Linked DNA regions of Homo sapiens: region 2 is linked to region 1. The links are contacts of gene promoters, found by promoter capture Hi-C in human tissues and cell types (Jung and others, 2019). All regions are on one chromosome and are shown on one strand. The core of a region is centred on a gene start or on the middle of the fragment in contact, and the rest is flanking DNA. Distances in the headings are between cores, read along the strand shown. Region 1 holds the start of DIABLO (diablo IAP-binding mitochondrial protein). Region 2 overlaps RSRC2 (arginine and serine rich coiled-coil 2).

Region 1 (4,272 bases), core at 1,112-3,611:
CTCAGCTGTACTCCGTTGCCACTAGGTAGGACACGGAAGATGACCAGTTCTCTGGGGGAGTAATTACTACTCACTGGCTTCCTGAGCAGCTTGATAATGTTCTGCTCCTGTTTTCAGCCTCACTGTGGCCAAGGCAATAATTTGATAATAAGAGATCCTGATTAAATTAAGGAGCCATTTGCTTCTGGATGATGATGTTGATAAAAGGGTTGATGTCCACACTGCCTGCTCTTTTCAAAGGTCAGAAAACAGTCTTGAACTAAAAACTACGGCAACGAGCAAAATAATCAGAAGCAGCATAGTTTATGCTTTCGTTTCCTTTGTTGTTGCATCTGGGAAAGTGTCTGTTCTTTGCAGAAATCCTCACTGGCTCCTTTTGCCTCACATTGTGAGGAGGTGAAATTGGAAGTGTCACATTGGGAAAGTATCTGTATAATGAGTCTGTAAGCTGCAAAACTCTTTGTAAATCGGAATCAAGCACTCAGGAGATCTCGGTCACTTAAGCTTGGTTCTCACACCCGTGCATGCTTGCACTTGCATGTTTTTTAAGACAACAGCTTTTGCTTTAGTAGTTGGGCGGTCGCAAGTGAACACTGTCCAGTGGTTCTTCTGGTGCCCAGACTCGGAGGAGATGGGACTGCTCTCAATGTGTTTGTTAGAAACGAAACTGTTCGCACTATAACCCCATAACCCCTTACAATGTTCAGAAAAAAACAAGAAGGGGCTTGAAATACCCACTAGTGTGCCGCCTGCTCAGCCCATCTGGGTCTGTGAAACCACATCTGAGCCCTGTGGGCTGTGGTGGCGACACAGGCAGAGGGCGGGCAGGGTTGCCAGCGCCCCGCCTGGGCTAGGAACGCCTGTGCGCAGCTCCCTGAGAGCTCGGGGACCACGCGGAGGTTGTAATTGGTCTCTAGACCACACCTAGTTGTTGAGTGCCGCTGCTTGAAAATCTCAGTTCTGCCGAGATCGCAGAATACACACAAGCTACCTTTGGGCACCAGAGCAGACAGAACCGCGGAGCTTCAGGGTGGAAGATTCGTGGAAACTTTGCCAAGTAAGTGAGGTGGGGAGAGAAGGAAGCCAGTGCCTGACACTGTGGGGAGTGGCTGGGCAAAGCAGCATTGGAGGTGTTGTAGGGTTCCTACTGTCTGATGAGCTGGTGTGGGGTTCTTACTGTCTGATGTCGTCTCTGGTGGAAGTTAGCAGGGCTGGGGCAGATGCACAGAGCACGGTGGCGGGGGTGAGCCCAGGATCGGATTGATGCCCACCCACCACCTGGCACCCTGCAGTCCCAGCTGGCCAGAAGGCAAGCATGCTGGACCACAAAGCAAAGATCCTCCAGCTCTGCTGCTGGCAAGCCTTGGGGCCAGGGGACTCACAGAAGAGCAGGTTTGGGCCTGTGCCTTCCTCCTGCCCAAATGGGTCTCTCTCCCCTTCCCCTTCCAGCCAGGGCCGCAGCTGGGGCTGCAGCTTGAGTGACGGGAAAAGAAAGGTTTACTCCACCAGCGCATTAGCGGCACTCACAGCATTAAAAATGCAGGAGGTGGTGGGAGGAGCGGGCCAGGGAGGAAAACTCATGCAGCTGCGGGGCGCGGGGAAGAGCCGGGCTTCTGCCTCCTCAGCCCGGATCAGAGCCGAAGAACGAGGGCAGTTTGGGTTGAGAAGGATTCTCCAGTGTAACCGAGAAGCGAGCGTCCAGGAGGCTGTTGGGGAGGTCGGCACTGTGGGCTTCCTGGCCTTCGTTTGCTGTTTCGAGGGCCAGGACCTCGTGTGTTCCCGTCCGCCCCTCTGGGACGGCGCCAGCCCGGCAGGCCGCCGACCGTCCTGGGGCTCCCGCGCAGCGCGATGCCGGCCTCGTCCACCGTCCACGTGCTGCAGCTGCTGCGGGAGCTGCTCGCCTTCGTGCTCCTCAGCTACACGGTGCTCATCGGGGCGCTGCTGCTGGCCGGCTGGACCACTTACTTCCTGGTGCTGAAGTGACAGCGCCGTCGCCGCGCCCGGCCCCGCCTCCCGCCCGGCCCCGCCTCCCGCCCGGCCCCGCCTCCCTAACTCACCAGGAAATTCCCTTCAAGCCCTGGCCCGAACTGAGTCCCCGCCCACCCGCCAGCGTCACGGCGCCCGACTCAGCTCCGCGCCGGACCCACCTCCGCGCCCTCAGGCCCTGCATATGCCCCGCCCCGCGCGGAAGTTCCGGCGGTTGGTTGCCTTGCGCGGCCGTTACAGCCTTTGCCCTAAGCCTCGCCCCCTTTCCCCCTGCCTGCCCAATCCCGACTGCTTCCTTGGGTGGGGGCGTGGCTATGGGGCGAGGCGCTCTCAGGTGGAGGCCGTGCCCCGCTCCGCGCTCACGAAGCTGCGTCACTTCCGGCGTGTGCGTCTGGCGTCCGCGCGCTGCACAATGGCGGCTCTGAAGAGTTGGCTGTCGCGCAGCGTAACTTCATTCTTCAGGTACCGCTGCGGCCGCGTAGAGGGGACAGGACCAGAGGGAGGGACCGACGCGGACAGCGCTGTGGCCCGGCCCACGGCGCCCGCCTTCCTTACGCGCTCATCTCTCGTCCGCCCAGCTGGGTCGCGGCGTCTCGCTCCGGTCGGGAGGACTGAGGACAGCCCCGCCTCCGCCCCCTGGGTCAAGCCCGGCTTCCTTTTCAGTTCGTCCATCTTCTAGAAACGAGTCCCCGAGACCCCGGGCTGCCTTCTTGGGGCTGCTCCGCCTCCTGACCAGCCCTCGTCAGCCACTCGAAGTCCCTGAGGAGACGTGGAGAGGAGGAGGGACACGGCATGGGGGGAGTCCGGGAAGGGAGACGAGCGTCTGAAGACGTCCTCCCGAGGGCAGAAGGGGCCGGGGGAGCTGGCGCAGGGCTCTCTACCTAGCGCTGCAGGCTCCTGGGCGATTGTAGCGGGACCGTCACACACAACTGGCACCCAGGCCAGGGGTCCAGAGCTAAATTCTGCCTGCAGGAGCGGTTATTGTGGCATCCGTTTCTAAAAAGTTTAAAGGCAACATTTTATTTTATTTTAATTTTTTTGAGACAAGATCTGCCTCTGTCGCCCAGGCTGGAGTGCAGTGGCGAGATCTCAGCTCACTGCAACCTGTGCCTCCCGGCTTCAAGCGATTCTCAGCCTCAGCCTCCCGAGTAGCTGGGATTGCAGGCGCCCGCCACCACGCCCGGCTAATTTTTTTTTTTCTTTTTGTTTTGTTTGAGACTCAGTCTCGCTCTGTTGCCCAGGCTGAAGTGCAGTGGGGCGCTCTCGGCTCACTGCAACCTCTGCCTCCCAGGTTCAAGCGATTCTCCTGCCTCAGCCTCCCGAGTAGCTGGGATTACAGGAGCGTGCCACCACTCCGGGCTAATTTTTGTGTTTTAAGTAGAGATGGGGTTTCACCATGTTGGTCAGGCAGATTTCGAATTCCTGACCTCAAGTGATCCACCCGCCTCGGCCTTTATTTACTTATTTTTTTTTAATAGACACGGGGTCATGTTGCCAGCCATGTTGCCCAGGCTGGTCGTGAACTCCTGGGCTCAAGTGATCCTCCCGCCTTGCCCTTGGCCTTCCAAGTGCTAGGATTACAGGCGTGAGCCACCAACACCCTGCCTGAGGCAACATTTTAAACTTGGTGTATGTTGAAAATTTCAAAACCCCTCAGCTGTCCTGCATCCTCATTTAGGTTCCTGCTTGGCTCGAGTTTGAGTTTACAGCCCCTGCAAGTAAATCCAAGAGCCTGTTACAGATTGGCGGTCGTGCCTTATGAAATCTGACTTCTACTTCCAGGTACAGACAGTGTTTGTGTGTTCCTGTTGTGGCTAACTTTAAGAAGCGGTGTTTCTCAGAATTGATAAGACCATGGCACAAAACTGTGACGATTGGCTTTGGAGTAACCCTGTGTGCGGTTCCTATTGCACAGGTACTGTCGTGTGCAGTGATTCTTATCTAGTGTACCGTGTCCTCTTGAAGTCTCAAGTGGGCGGTGAAGCATTAGACAAGCTACCATAGTTTTTCCCAGTGCTCCCATCCCTTCCCCCACAGTACCGGCATCTTTTCACAGTTGAGCAGATATATTAATATTCTCATTTTGATTATCTCATTTGGTAGGAACAGCACATCAAATTGTATAAAGCGAGTAGAGAGAAATAAGAGGATATTACAGTCTATCAACAAAGTAGTCTTTGATTCAACAGAAATTTATTGAGCAACTTTTATGTGCAAGACACTGAGAATGTAAGAATGAACAACAAAAAATTCTTGTTCTCACAAAAGCTTTGTGGAGATGAAAGA
Region 2 (4,272 bases), core at 1,084-3,583, 280 kb before region 1:
GTGTGTGCCTATAGTCCCAGCTACTCAGGAGGCTTGAACTCGGGAGGTAGAGGTTGCAGTGAGCCAACATCACGCCATTGCACTCTAGCCTGGGTGACAGAGTGAGACCCTGTCTCACGAAAAAGAAAAAAACAAAAACAAAAAACAAAAAATTATCACGAAGAGCTTACTGTTGATTTGGTATGAAATTTAATCTGGAAGATGGTTTTTTGTTGTTTTTTACATTTTTGGTAAACAGTGGCACTTATTTGAAACTCTAAAAGTTTACAAATAGCCATTTTATTTTTACTACATCATTACTCTCTTTGGTAACTCTGGTTCCCATAATGTTGGTAATTTAAGTACTTTTTAAGGTTATATTCTGGACTGACAAAAATAGGTAATCAGAGGTGTCTTTTTTTACAGAGGACTGCTCAATCACAGTGGAAATACCAGGGCTTTATTGAACTTGGACTTAGCATAATACCTGCATACTGTTGTTGTTTTTGGGTTTTTTTTTGTTTTTGTTTTTGTTTTTTTTTTTGAGACGGAGGCTCATACTGTCGCCTGTGCTGGAGTACAGTGGCACAATCCTGACTCACAACAACCTCCACCTCTCGGGTTCAAGTGATTCTCCTGCCTCAGCCTCCTGAGTACCTGGGCTTATAGGCGCCTGCCACCACGCCTGGCTAATTTTTTTGTAGTTTTTATTTGAGACGGGGTTTCACTATGTTGGCCAGGCTGGTCTCGAACTCCTGACCTTGTGATCCGCCTGTCTTGGCCTCCTAAAGTGCTGGGATTACAGACGTGAGCCACTGCGCCCAGCCTTAGCTGCATACTGTTTTTCAAGTATATGATGTGAGCATCAAATGAAATGTCCATGAGAACATTTCATAAATTTAAAAAAATACAAGGTTTTATTGTTTTGTAATTATACCTTAGAAACACTATAGTTCATCTCCACTGAAATCATACTTTCTTACTATTTGCAGAATTCTCTATCCTCAAAGTAAATAAATGGGTTTTTTTTTTGTTTTGATACGGAGTTTCGCTCTTGTTGCCCAGGCTGGAGTGCAGTGGCATGATCTCGACTCACTGCAACCTTCGCCTTTTGGGTTCAAGTGATTCTCCTGCGTCAGCCTCCCGAGTAGCTGAGATTACGGGCATGTACCACCACGCCCGGCTAATTTTGTATTTTTGGTAGAGACGGGGTTTCTCCATGTTGGTCAGGCTGGTCTCGAACTCCCAACCTCAGGTGATCCGCCCACCTCAGCCTCCCAAAGTGCTGGGATTACAGGCGTGAGCCACTGCGCCTTGCAATAAATGGTTTATATATCAAGGGTTTATGTAGAAATATGTCCGTTGATGAACACAATAAATGTTTGCTAAAAACTTGTGAGCTAATACTCAGTCATTTCCTTGGATTTGGTGAAAATCCTGCCTTTTTGCACATTCATAGCTTTTTATAAATCGTTCGTTAATGTAAATCAGGAGGTTTATGTTTTAAAATCGTTTTAAAATCCATTTTTGTATTCTCTTCAAGCAGCTGCAGCTACTGGAGGTTCTGTTCTCAATGTTGCTGCCCTGTTGGCATCAGGAACACAAGTAACACCTCAGATAGCCATGGCAGCTCAGATGGCAGCCCTGCAAGCTAAAGCTTTGGCAGAGACAGGAATAGCTGTTCCTAGCTACTATAACCCAGCCGCTGTTAATCCAATGAAATTTGCTGAACAAGAGAAAAAAAGGAAAATGCTTTGGCAGGGCAAGAAAGAAGGGGTAAGTTCTCTTATTCTGCTTTTCTGTCGTTTATTCCTAATTAGTAATTGCTTAGAAAAACAAATTTGGGTTGAAAAATATTACTTTCGGCTTAACTTTGTAAGAACCTGGGGTGGCCAGACGCGGGTGGCTTATGCCTTTAATCCCAGCACTTTGGGATGCCAAGTGAGCGGATCAGTTGAGGTAAGGAGTCCAAGACCAGCCTGGCCAACATGGCAAAACCCTGTCTCTACTGAAAAGAAGATAAAAATCAGCTGGGTGTGGTGGCACACACCTGTAATCCCAGGTGCTTGGGAGGCTGAGGCAGGAGAATCGCTTGAGCCTGGGATGCAGAGCCTACATACAGTGAGCCAAGATCATGCCACTTAGCCAGGCATGGTGGTGGGCACCTGTAATCCCAGCTACTTGGGAGGCTGAAACAGGAGAATCACTTGATCCTGGGAGGCGGAGGTTGCAGTGAGTTTCCAGCGAAACTCCATCTGGAAAAAAAAAAAAAAAATCACGCCACTGCACTTCAGCCTGGGTGAGACCCTGTCTCAAAAAACTTATAATAAGCTATGATAGTCTTATTTGCCAGTTATTAATACTAAAATAAAACATAATTGATTGAAGTCAAGCTTTCAAAGAAAACTAATATTACCATAGAAGTAGTAAGGAAAAGAGGCTACTTGGTTTAGAATTTTTCATAGATTATGAGGTACTTTTTTTTTTTTGACATTATTTGCAATGACAAATGACATTAAATGCAAATGACATGCAGTCGCAAAAATTGCATGTTGAAAAAGGTCTATGACAGGAAAATAATCCATTTTTTTATTTTATTTTTATTATTTTTGAGACAGAGTCTTGCTCTTGTCACCCAGGCTGGAATGCAGTGGTGTGATCTCAGCTCACTGCAACCTCTGCCTCCCAGGTTCAAGCAATTCTCCTGCCTCAGACTCCTGAGACCCTCCTGGGTCTACAGGTGCCCACCACCATGCCAGGCTAGTTTTTTGTATTTTTAGTAGAGACGGGGTTTCACCTAGTCATCCAGGCTAGTCTCGATCCCCTGACCTCAGGTGATTTGCCCACCTCGGCCTTCCAAAGTGCTGGGATTATAGGAGTGAAGCACGGCGCCAACCTCTTGCTTGTATTTCTTTGCTTTGTGGTTTCTTAAGTCTTGAAATAATTAAACTTACATTGATTGAATGCTATCCATGGTGTTTTTTTTTTTAATTTAGACATTGTTGAGAGATTTCATGTCCTAAAAAATATTTAAATTTTACATATTTTAAAGTTCAGTGTTTGTTAACAGGACAAATCCCAATCTGCTGAAATATGGGAAAAATTGAATTTTGGAAACAAGGACCAAAATGTCAAATTTAGGAAATTGATGGGTATTAAGGTGAGTTTCACATGTGCCAGGGGATCTTTGTATTAGCTATTAGCCCTCCTGCACTGTTCTTCCCTCATTTTCTTAGTTCTGGTCTTTACTCAGGTGTCAGCGTTTTTGAGTTCTTTCCCACCACCTTTTGTGAAATAACAAGCAATCCCATTCTGAAACATTTCCATCTCCCCTACCCACTGTCCTCCCTACACACACACTTGGAGAGAGAGAGAGAGACGGGGTTTTGCTCTGCTTGCTCTGTCACTTGGGCTGGAGTACAGTGGTGCAGTCATACCTCACTGCAGCCTTAAACTTCGAGGCTCAAGCAGTCCTTCCACCTCGGCCTCTCAAAGCCCTGGATCACAGTTCTGAGCCACTGCGCCCAGCCTCCATCCCCATTTTCTACTTTACTTTCCTCTGTGGCATTTATACCCTGACATCTTCTACATATTATGTTTTTTCCAACCTACTAAACTGAAGTTAACTTTTGTTACACCCTGCTATATTCCAGACCTAGAAAGAACATTGCCTTGTCCTTTGGAGGTGTTCAATAATGAATGGAAATTAAGTTATTGAGATCAAATACATATCCCAAAAGTATATTTTTGTTTGTTTGTTTTTTGTTTTTAGTATAGACGGGGTTTCACCATGTTGGCCAGGCTAGTCTCGAAATCCTGACCTCAGGTGATCCACCCGTCTCAGCCTCCCAAAGTGCTGGGATTACAGGCGTGAGCCACACTGCACCCGGCCAAAAGTATAATTTAATAGTGTCAGCCTAGTTCACACCTGTAATCCCAACACTTCGGGAGGCCGGGGGGCAGGCGGCAGGGGGGATCCCTGAGGTCAGGAGTTCGAGACCAGCCTGACCAATGTGGTGAAACCCCGTCTCTACTGAAAATACAAAAATTAGCTGGGCGTGGTGGCATGTGCCTCTAATCCCAGCTATTTGGGAGGCTGAGGCATAAGAATTACTTAAACCCAGGAGGCAGAGGTTGCAGTGAGCCGAGATGGCACCACTGCACTCCAGACGGGACAACAGAGCAAGACTCCATCTCAAAAAAAAAAAATACATAAAAAATAGTGTCAAGTGAGAGAATATTTATCTCCATCTGAATTCATTGTAATGTTTTATGTCTGATTTTTAGAGTGAA

The links. The method cuts DNA at HindIII sites, captures the fragments that hold promoters and counts their contacts. A contact is called where the count stands out against the background at its distance.
Region 2: a contact is called between a fragment that was not itself captured here and the fragment with the promoter of DIABLO in region 1, in 6 of the 25 tissues and cell types used here (IMR-90 fibroblasts, adrenal gland, aorta and 3 more).

What each region holds. Positions count from the first base shown.
Region 1 is chr12:122,224,141-122,228,412 of GRCh38, reverse strand. DIABLO (diablo IAP-binding mitochondrial protein) reads left to right here and starts at 2,361. Exons shown (of 6, transcript NM_001371333.1): 1 at 2,361-2,448; 2 at 3,769-3,901. The coding sequence starts at 2,399. It overlaps LOC128125816, which reads left to right and starts at 1,849. Exons shown (of 1, transcript NM_001414998.1): 1 at 1,849-1,983. The coding sequence starts at 1,849. The coding sequence ends at 1,983. It overlaps LOC101593348 (a long non-coding RNA gene), which reads right to left and starts at 1,971. Exons shown (of 1, transcript NR_103497.1): 1 at 1-1,971. RefSeq lists enhancers at 384-1,215, 1,216-2,047, 1,997-2,291, 2,345-2,584, 2,595-2,644 and 1 more and a silencer at 1,915-2,054. The HindIII fragment of the contact is 13,255 bases long and covers 1-4,272 here.
Region 2 is chr12:122,505,701-122,509,972 of GRCh38, reverse strand. It overlaps RSRC2 (arginine and serine rich coiled-coil 2), which reads left to right. Exons shown (of 10, transcript NM_023012.6): 8 at 1,526-1,755; 9 at 3,050-3,139; 10 at 4,267-4,272. Among named protein-coding and RNA genes, the nearest start is that of ZCCHC8, 6.9 kb to the right of the region's middle. The HindIII fragment of the contact is 4,115 bases long and covers 276-4,272 here.